Linked DNA regions of Homo sapiens: regions 2 and 3 are each linked to region 1. The links are contacts of gene promoters, found by promoter capture Hi-C in blood cells and fetal thymus (Javierre and others, 2016). All regions are on one chromosome and are shown on one strand. The core of a region is centred on a gene start or on the middle of the fragment in contact, and the rest is flanking DNA. Distances in the headings are between cores, read along the strand shown. Region 1 holds the start of TGDS (TDP-glucose 4,6-dehydratase). Region 2 has its middle 57 kb from the start of CLDN10-AS1. Region 3 overlaps LOC124903193 (a long non-coding RNA gene).

Region 1 (2,641 bases), core at 96-2,595:
GGAAGAAAAATAAAGAAGGATAAGATGATTCGGCAGGGTTGGGCAGAGCTCGCTATTTTAATTGTGGTGGTCAATAGGATGCCATTCAAGCTGAAAACGGAAGTAAGGGTAAAAACTAGGCAGACATCTGGGGAAAGACAATCAAGGTCCCGGGGAAGTAGCATGCCTGGCACATTGAATGAAGAGCAAGGAGGGTGGGGAGGCTGGGGCGGAGTGAGCAAAGGAGAGAATAGAATAAGACATCAGCGTAGGACCTAGGGAATATCTTTATCATGATTGCAAGCCTTCTGCGCTGTCTGTAATAATAATATTATTATTTTTTGAGACGGAGTTTTGCTGTTGTTGCCCAGGCTGGAGTGCGATGGTGCGGTCTCGGCTCACTGCAACCTCTGCCTTCCGGGTTCAAGCAATTCTCCTGCCTCGGCCTCCCAAGTAGCTGGGATTACAGGCGCCCGCCACCACGCCCGGCTAATTTTTGTATTTTTAGTAGAGACAGGGTTTCACCATGTTGGCCAAGCTGGTCTCGAATCCTGACCTCAGGTGATCCGCCCACCTCGGCCTCCCAAAGTCCTGGGATTACAGGCGTAAGCCACGGCGCCCGGCCTGAAATAATATTAACAACAGCAAAAGATCATTTTGCAGGCCAGGCACGGTGCTCACGCCTGTAATCCCAGGACCTTGGGAGGCTGAGGCGGGAGGTTGGCTAGATCCCAGGAGTTCGAGACCAGCCTGGACAACAGGGCGAAACCCATCTCTACCAAAAATTAGGCGGGCGTGGTGGCGCACGACTGTATTCCTAGCTACTCAGGAGGCTGAGGTGGGAGGATTGCTTGAGCCCCATTGGTCGACGCTGCAGTGAGCCGTGATCGCACCACTGCACTCCAGCCTGGGTAACAGAGGGAGACCCTGTCCCCGCCCCACTAAAAAAAAAAATCATTTTTAAATTGCAACCTCCCATCTCCATCTGCAACAACTCCCCGTTCTCAGCTCAACTGATAGGTAACCTCTAGAGATGGCTGTAGTACAAGAATGAAAAAAGGTACTCATTCATAAATCTGATCCATAGTGGTGGCATTTCCGGGAAAAACGTTCCATACCCCTACCATCCGGGCGACCCCAATTGCACCTGGCGGACCAGGCAAGGGCGGAAAGGAGCAGCGCCTGCGCGTGGTGAGCGCGGCCCCGCCCAGCCCGCTAGTGGGCGGGCAGAAACTGGCCACAGAGCAGTCTCCGGAAGCTGCCTCTGGCTGCTCTGTTAACGTGTCCCGCGAGCGAGGCGCGTCGCAAAAGGTCGCGGCGGAACTTCCCTGCGCTTTTCAGACCATACTCTTTACGGTACTAGGCACTGCTGAGCTGGGAGATGTCGGCGGCGTGTTGGGAGGAACCGTGGGGTCTTCCCGGCGGCTTTGCGAAGCGGGTCCTGGTGACCGGCGGTGCTGGTTTCATGTAGGTAATGGCGCCGCTAGCCAAGCAGTGGCTCCCCAGAAACCCCTACCTTTTCCCGCAGCTCTGCTTGCCCTAGGTAATTTGGGTCCAGCTTTGAGGGGTCCTTATTCTGATATGGGGAGGGTCCTAATGCACGACCTGGACCAGCTTTTCTCTCTCTGGCCTGCAAAGAAGTGGTTCCTTTGAAACTGACTTCTTTAAAACGCCTCTTCCAAAGCTGCGTTACTCTCCGCCCTTCTGTGGCCGGAGGTGCTCACCATGTCACTCCTTGAGTGCGTGCAAGTTACCCTAAGCTGCTCACCGACTGCTTCCCACCTCCAGCCTAGAGCACCCACACCCCACGATGGGCCCTGTACATATAGGCACCCCCAAAACGATTTAAGGACTATAATAGGACATCTATGTAATCAGCAAACTTTTACAAATCCACTGTTGACACCCTTTTCTTCCTCAGACCCACATTCGAGCAGCAAGTCCTCTCTACTTCCAAAGTATATCCTTACGGCGACCACTTCTCACCAGTTTCCCGTTTCCACCCTAGCCCATGTTTACTGTCATCTTTTGCCTCGACTGCTGCTGTAGCCTCTTGGTTGGCCATAACTGCGTCCACTCATGTTCCTTTAAAGCCTGTTGCTCACATACAAGTCAGTGTTTCTTAAGTCAATCAGATCATGGTAGAAGCAGGATTTTACTTCAGTGGTTCCTGCCACACTTAAGAATAAAGCCCAAACTCTACCATATCTAGAAAACTCAAGTGCCCAAGCCCTACTTTTGCAACCTGATCTGCTTTTCTGTACCTGCCATGCTTCCCCTCTTAGTTCTTGGAACACACCAAGATACACACTTCTGTCTTGAGGCCTTTGCACTTGCTTCCCCTTTCCTTAGGCTGTTTGCACCACTCAATTCTGGTTTTTATTCAGATAGCACCTCAGAGAGTTCTTACCTGACCACCATATCTAAAATAGCCCCTCTCCCAACTAGCACACTTAACCTCTACCTGAAATTATATTGCGGATTTGTGTCTGCTTGTTTATTGCTTGTATCCCCACTCTAAAATGCAAACTCGGTAAGGACAGAGACTACTGTTCATTCAGCACCTGGAAGAATGCCTGGCCCATTCTATATAAGTCTTTAGTAATTGTGGAATGGATGAATGCAAGAGTAATAAACAGGAAACTCTCCTATCCTCCCCTCA
Region 2 (2,641 bases), core at 99-2,598, 880 kb before region 1:
TGCTGGAATTATAGGCATGAGCCACTGTGCCTGGCCTCCAGAGCTTTTTAAAACACAACAGGTGATTCCAATTTGCAGCCAATTTTGAGAACCACTGTTTTAGGCAAAAGATCTCATTTCTTTTCACATGAAAGCTGGCTTTCATTGTTAGAGGACTCCTCCAAGAAGCCTCCCTAACGAACCACACGTTTTCCTCCTCCTCCTCCATCTGTCCACGGGCCTGTCTGCAGCTGATGCCAGTACTTATCATGGCTTAAGATACATATGGGTTACCTGAGGGTGTTGCAGATTCAGATTCGTTCAGTCTGGGGTGAGGGGTTGAGACGCTGCCTCTCTAAGTCCCAGGTGCTGCTGGTCCACAGACCATCCACAGTAGGGTTGGCAGGACATCAACCTGTGTTTCCGCATGTGCACCTTTGCAGTTGTTCTCTGTTTTGCATTCCTTTTCTGCTTCTGTATTAACCATGTTTCTCCTTTCTGTAAACCTGATGCTTTAACATCTGCCCCGCGTGCATCTGCAGGACACACCTTGCTCTGTGCAACCCAATAATATGTCTCCCTCACTGTCCCCCTCCCCCTGGAAGGAGTCCTCCGGGTGATATGCTTTTCAAATGAAAACCAACCCAGAGCTCGCATCCCAACCAATTCCCTTATCTGGCTCTCACACTCCAGGCCACTATCCCCCTGCCCTAATCACCCAGGACCAGGTATCTGACAAATAGGAACAGCCTGTATGCCCCAGAGCCTGCTGAAATGATTTAAACTAGCCAGTCCTGAGCTAGCTAACCCTGCCTTGCCCACTCTTTCCTGTGGAAACCATAATAAGGGCTCTGGCCACGTTCTCTTCTCCCTCTGCCTCTTGACCAGCCCTCGTGCTGCCCCGGGTGTCCCTGCATGGCGTGGCGTGCCCACTTCTCTTAGATCTGAGAGTAAGAAACTCTCTCTTCAGTGAGAGTCATCATCTGATCTATTGGCCTCACCAAAGCTGAATAAAATTAAAACCTATTAGAGCAACTCCCCTGCTAGGAGGAGAGGCGTGGCTGGTTCCCAACTTGTCTGCATCCCGCCTCTCCTCCCAGTCTTGCTTGGGTCCCTGCTATGCTGCTCATGGTATGAACACAAGACCCTGTACACACACAGAAAAGAGCACAATCAGTGACTGTTGAATGAATAAGTGAACAAATGTAGGGAGAAAAATTCTGAACTTGGAGACCTGGCTCTGCCACTAACAGCTGTGAGAGATTGTGAAGGTGCCCCCGAGACTCAGTGACTTCATCTGTCCTGTTATTTCATAGTGAGGCCACCTGAGCAATATGTGTTAAAGCCCCTTTTCATCCACATGGTAGCATCCTCCTTTCTCTCTCCATCTCCTACTTGTCACTGGTGTTCAGGGTTCCAGCCTTGCCCTTCACACACTGCCTGGGAGGTCCCATCTGTTTCTGAGTCTTTGAATCTTCACCCACAGCTGCTATGGTCTGAATATCTGTGTCCCTCCAAAATTCACACGTTGAAATCCAAATGCCCAAGGTGATGGCGTTGGGAGGTGGGGCCTTCGGGAGGTGATTAGATCTTGAGGGTGGAGCCCCCATTAATGGGATTAGTGCCCTTATACAGAAGGCTCCGGAGAGCTGCCTCACTTCTGCCACCACGTGAGGACACAGAGAGAAGACTCACCTGTGAATCAGAAAGCAGCCCTCACCGGACACCAAATCCATCAGCACCTTGACCTTGGACTTACTTCCCACCCTCCAGAACCGTGGGAAATACATTTCTGTTGTCTATGAGTTACCCGATCTAAGGCATTTTGTTATAGCAGCCTGAACAGACTAAGACACCAGCTCAGGCTCCCCTCTTGAGCTCCACACACGTCTAACCAAATGCCGACAATCCATCTCTATCCTGTCAACCTGCCTGTAAGTCATATTTGACACATTCAAAATCGAGTTTATCATGCCTTTGCGCCTCCCAAACCAGCTCCTCCCCTCATATGTCCTATCACCACAAGTGCCCAGAAGGGGAGTGGCACACGGAAGGAAGCAATCTGGGCGATGGGGGTGGAATTAGATGGCAGAGATTTGTGACAAGCATAGAAGACCACCCAGCACGCTCAGGGGCAGCATCAATCATAAGTCACATCACAGCAGAGCCATGGTGCTCATCACAGCAGAGCCATGGTGCTCAAGTCCCGACAGGGAGAGAGGGTGAGGGAGAGAGAGAGAGAGAGGGAAAGAGGGAGAGAGAGGGACAGAGAGAGACAGAGAGAGAGAGAGAGATGCAGGGACCCTCGACCCATGCAGGTGGGCTTGGGATCATGAGAGCACATGAGGATAGACCCCAGGCTGGCTTCACTGAGACGCCACCCAGAGAAAGGCAGCTGGAGGATGAGGTGGGAATGGAGCCCTTGCCACCTTCCTGGAGCTCCAAGCCAGTCACCCTCACCAGGGGCCCAGAGGCCATTGGGGCAAACAGCACTGAAACTCTTTCAAACCCTGCTGGCCACTTCCCTCCCTTGGGGAGCAGCAGAGAAGCCCACTGGTGGCCAGTGCTCAGTCAGCACAGCTGAGGTGGGCTGGCAAAACTCCTGGCTCTCTCTGTCTCCGAGAATTGGCTGGGGCATCTGATGGTGGTTGCAGAGCCTCAT
Region 3 (2,641 bases), core at 51-2,550, 800 kb before region 1:
AGGAGTCTGAGACACGAGAATCACTTGAACCTGGGAGGTGGAGATGGCAGTGAGCCCTGATTGCACCACTGCACTCCAGCCTGGGCAACAGAGCAAGATTCTGTCTCAAAAAAAAAAAAAGTAAGTAAATAAATAAATTACCCAGTCTCAGGTATTTCTTTATAGCGATGTGAGAACAGACTAATGCAACTGGAGTAGGGAGGTGCCTAATCCAGTATGCTTGGTATCCCTATAAGAGGGAACTTTGGACCTAGATACACACAGGGAAGATGATACAATGGAACAGGAAGAAGATGCCCAAGTGAAGATGAAAGCAGAGACTGGAATGAGGCATCTACAATCTAAGAAACAGAGAGATGCTAGAAACCAGGAGACGCAAGGACCTCCCCTGTAGATTTTAGAGAAAGTGTCGTCCTGCTGACACCTTGAGCTCAGGCTTTTAGCCCCCAGAAATGGGAGATAATTCTCTGTTGTTTCTTTTGTTTGAGACAGTGCCTTGCTCTGATACTCAGGCTGGAGTGCAGTGGCCTGGTCTCAGCTCATTGCAACCTCCACCTCCCAGGCTCAAGCAATCCTGACACCTCAGCCTCCCAAGTAGATGGGACTACAGGTAAATGCCACCACACCTGGCTAGTTTTTATTTGTATTTTTTGTAGAGACAGGGTTTTGCCATGTTACCCAGGCTGGTCTCTGTTGTTTTAAGCCATCCAAGTGTTTGGTATTTTCCTACAGCAGCCACAGGAAAAGGATACAACCTTCATTGATCTGCAGAGACATGGGTCTATGCCTTCCGTGGTTGACCTAAACCATGATCAGTAGGAAGGCCATACAGAGCAACACATGGAGGGAGTGGGGGTAAGGGAGGGAGTGAAGATGGGAAGGCCAAGAATAAAAATTCTCCAGGTGATGGATGGATCCACTCCAATGTGAACATCAGCAGCACAGGAGTCTGATGACTCCAGCAGGGTTTGGAGGTCCTGAGGCTATGCCAGCTTCTGGGGACCAGGTGGTGTGTGTCTTGGTGCCTGCATGCCTCCCTCTCTCCACCACATCCCGTCAGCGCTCCTCATGCCCACCACAACCAGGTCTGGGCCCCTTGACTGTGCAAGATGGCATGTTACTAACCACACTTAGAATGAAGTTTAAGCTGACAGGCACATGCATAACATCACATTGATCATATGGGAGTTTTACAATGTGAATTGCAGACATCAGGATAAGGGAGGAAGGGGATGGGGGTGCATGTGAAGGCTTGAGGAGAGAAGAAAAGGCCTGAGAGAATTACTTTAGGGAGTGGGAGAGTGAACTTATTAGTGAAGCATTGTACAATTTCTGGCTACTTAAAGCCCATGTAAAGTTTATGACTGTGTTTCTAAATAAGATCAGTCTGCCCAGATGGGTGAATTTTTCATTAAAGTTCATCTGCAGGCGTGGACACAGTGGAGTTGCTGTTACGTAGAATTGGGTTTTTCTTCCAGAGGGAAAGAGAGGAAGTTGAGAGTGTTTGCCAGGGAGTGATTATAACTCTGGGTTGCAAAATCCTGGCTGGACACTGTAGAATGAGATGATGGATTAATGAAGAGACATCTCAATGAGGCCCAAGAATTGTCCCTGTGGGTACCCAGGCACAGTAGCTCATGCCTGTAATCCCAGCACTTTGGGAGGCTGAGGTGGGTGGATCACAAGGTCAAGAGATCGAGACCATCCTGGCCAACATGGTGAAACCCCATCTCTACTAAAAATACAAAAATTAGCTGGGCGTGGTGGCGAGTGCCTGTAGTCCCAGCTACTCAGGAGGCTGAGGCAGGAGAATTGCTTGTACCTGGAAGGCAGAGGTTGCAGTGAGCTGAGATTGTGCCATTGCACTCCAGCCTGGCAACAGAGCGAGACTCCATCTCAAAAAATAAAATGAAATAAAAAAATTAAAAAGAATTGTTCTTGTAGGTATCCTGGAGCAAATAAATTGGAAGGATAGGAGATGGGATGGAGAAGGAAATGTCTGACTTTGAGATTTCTGAGGTGGCACACTTTCTGGTGATGACAAGATCCAGGGTTTGGCAATGGCATTGGGTGGCTGAGATAGATGGAGTGACAGAAAAGGTTGCTATTGATGAGATGGCTAAGGAAAGGTGGGGCTGGCATGTAAATAGTAGCAGAAATTGGGGCAGAAAGGCAGTCAGGAGTGTACTTTTCAGTGATCGGGGACAGTGTCTGGGAAGCTGCTTGATACAGAAGGCGGAAGGGGAGAGGAGGGTGTAGTTGATGATCTGAGCATTAGGAGAGCTGGGATCATTTTGCAATAAGGAAAGGGAGAGGCCAGGCATGGTGGCTTACCTCTGTAATCCCAACATTTTGGGAGGCCAAGGAGAGATTTCTTGAGCCCATTAGTTCGAGACTAGCCTGGGCAACATAATAAGACCCCGTCTACAGAAAAAAAAAAAAAGAGCTGGGCATTGTGGCATATTATACCAACCCCCTGACTTTTTTCTGAGCTTTTTCCTTTTTCCACATTTACATATCCACACTAACAGGTTATATGGTATCCATGTAAGAAAAGGGAAATTTGAACCCAACACACACGGACAGAAGGTGATGCAATGAAACAGGAAGAAAATGCCCATGTGAAGATGAAGGCAGAGAG

What was found. The method cuts DNA at HindIII sites, captures the fragments that hold promoters and counts their contacts. A CHiCAGO score of 5 or more calls a contact.
Region 2: a fragment that was not itself captured here is called in contact with the fragment with the promoter of TGDS in region 1 in 1 of 17 cell types (naive CD8 T cells); the score reaches 6.2 in naive CD8 T cells.
Region 3: a contact is called between a fragment that was not itself captured here and the fragment with the promoter of TGDS in region 1, in 1 of 17 cell types (non-activated CD4 T cells). The highest score is 5.5, in non-activated CD4 T cells.

Annotation. Positions count from the first base shown.
Region 1 is chr13:94,594,856-94,597,496 of GRCh38, reverse strand. It overlaps TGDS (TDP-glucose 4,6-dehydratase), which reads left to right and starts at 1,345. Exons shown (of 12, transcript NM_014305.4): 1 at 1,345-1,446. The coding sequence starts at 1,361. RefSeq lists an enhancer at 1,172-1,481. The HindIII fragment of the contact is 5,991 bases long and covers 1-2,641 here.
Region 2 is chr13:95,475,419-95,478,059 of GRCh38, reverse strand. It overlaps a transcript of CLDN10 not described here. Among named protein-coding and RNA genes, the nearest start is that of CLDN10-AS1, 57 kb to the left of the region's middle. The HindIII fragment of the contact is 4,663 bases long and covers 1-2,641 here.
Region 3 is chr13:95,390,397-95,393,037 of GRCh38, reverse strand. All of the region lies in intron 1 of LOC124903193 (a long non-coding RNA gene), which reads left to right. Among named protein-coding and RNA genes, the nearest start is that of ABCC4, 90 kb to the right of the region's middle. The HindIII fragment of the contact is 5,449 bases long and covers 1-2,641 here.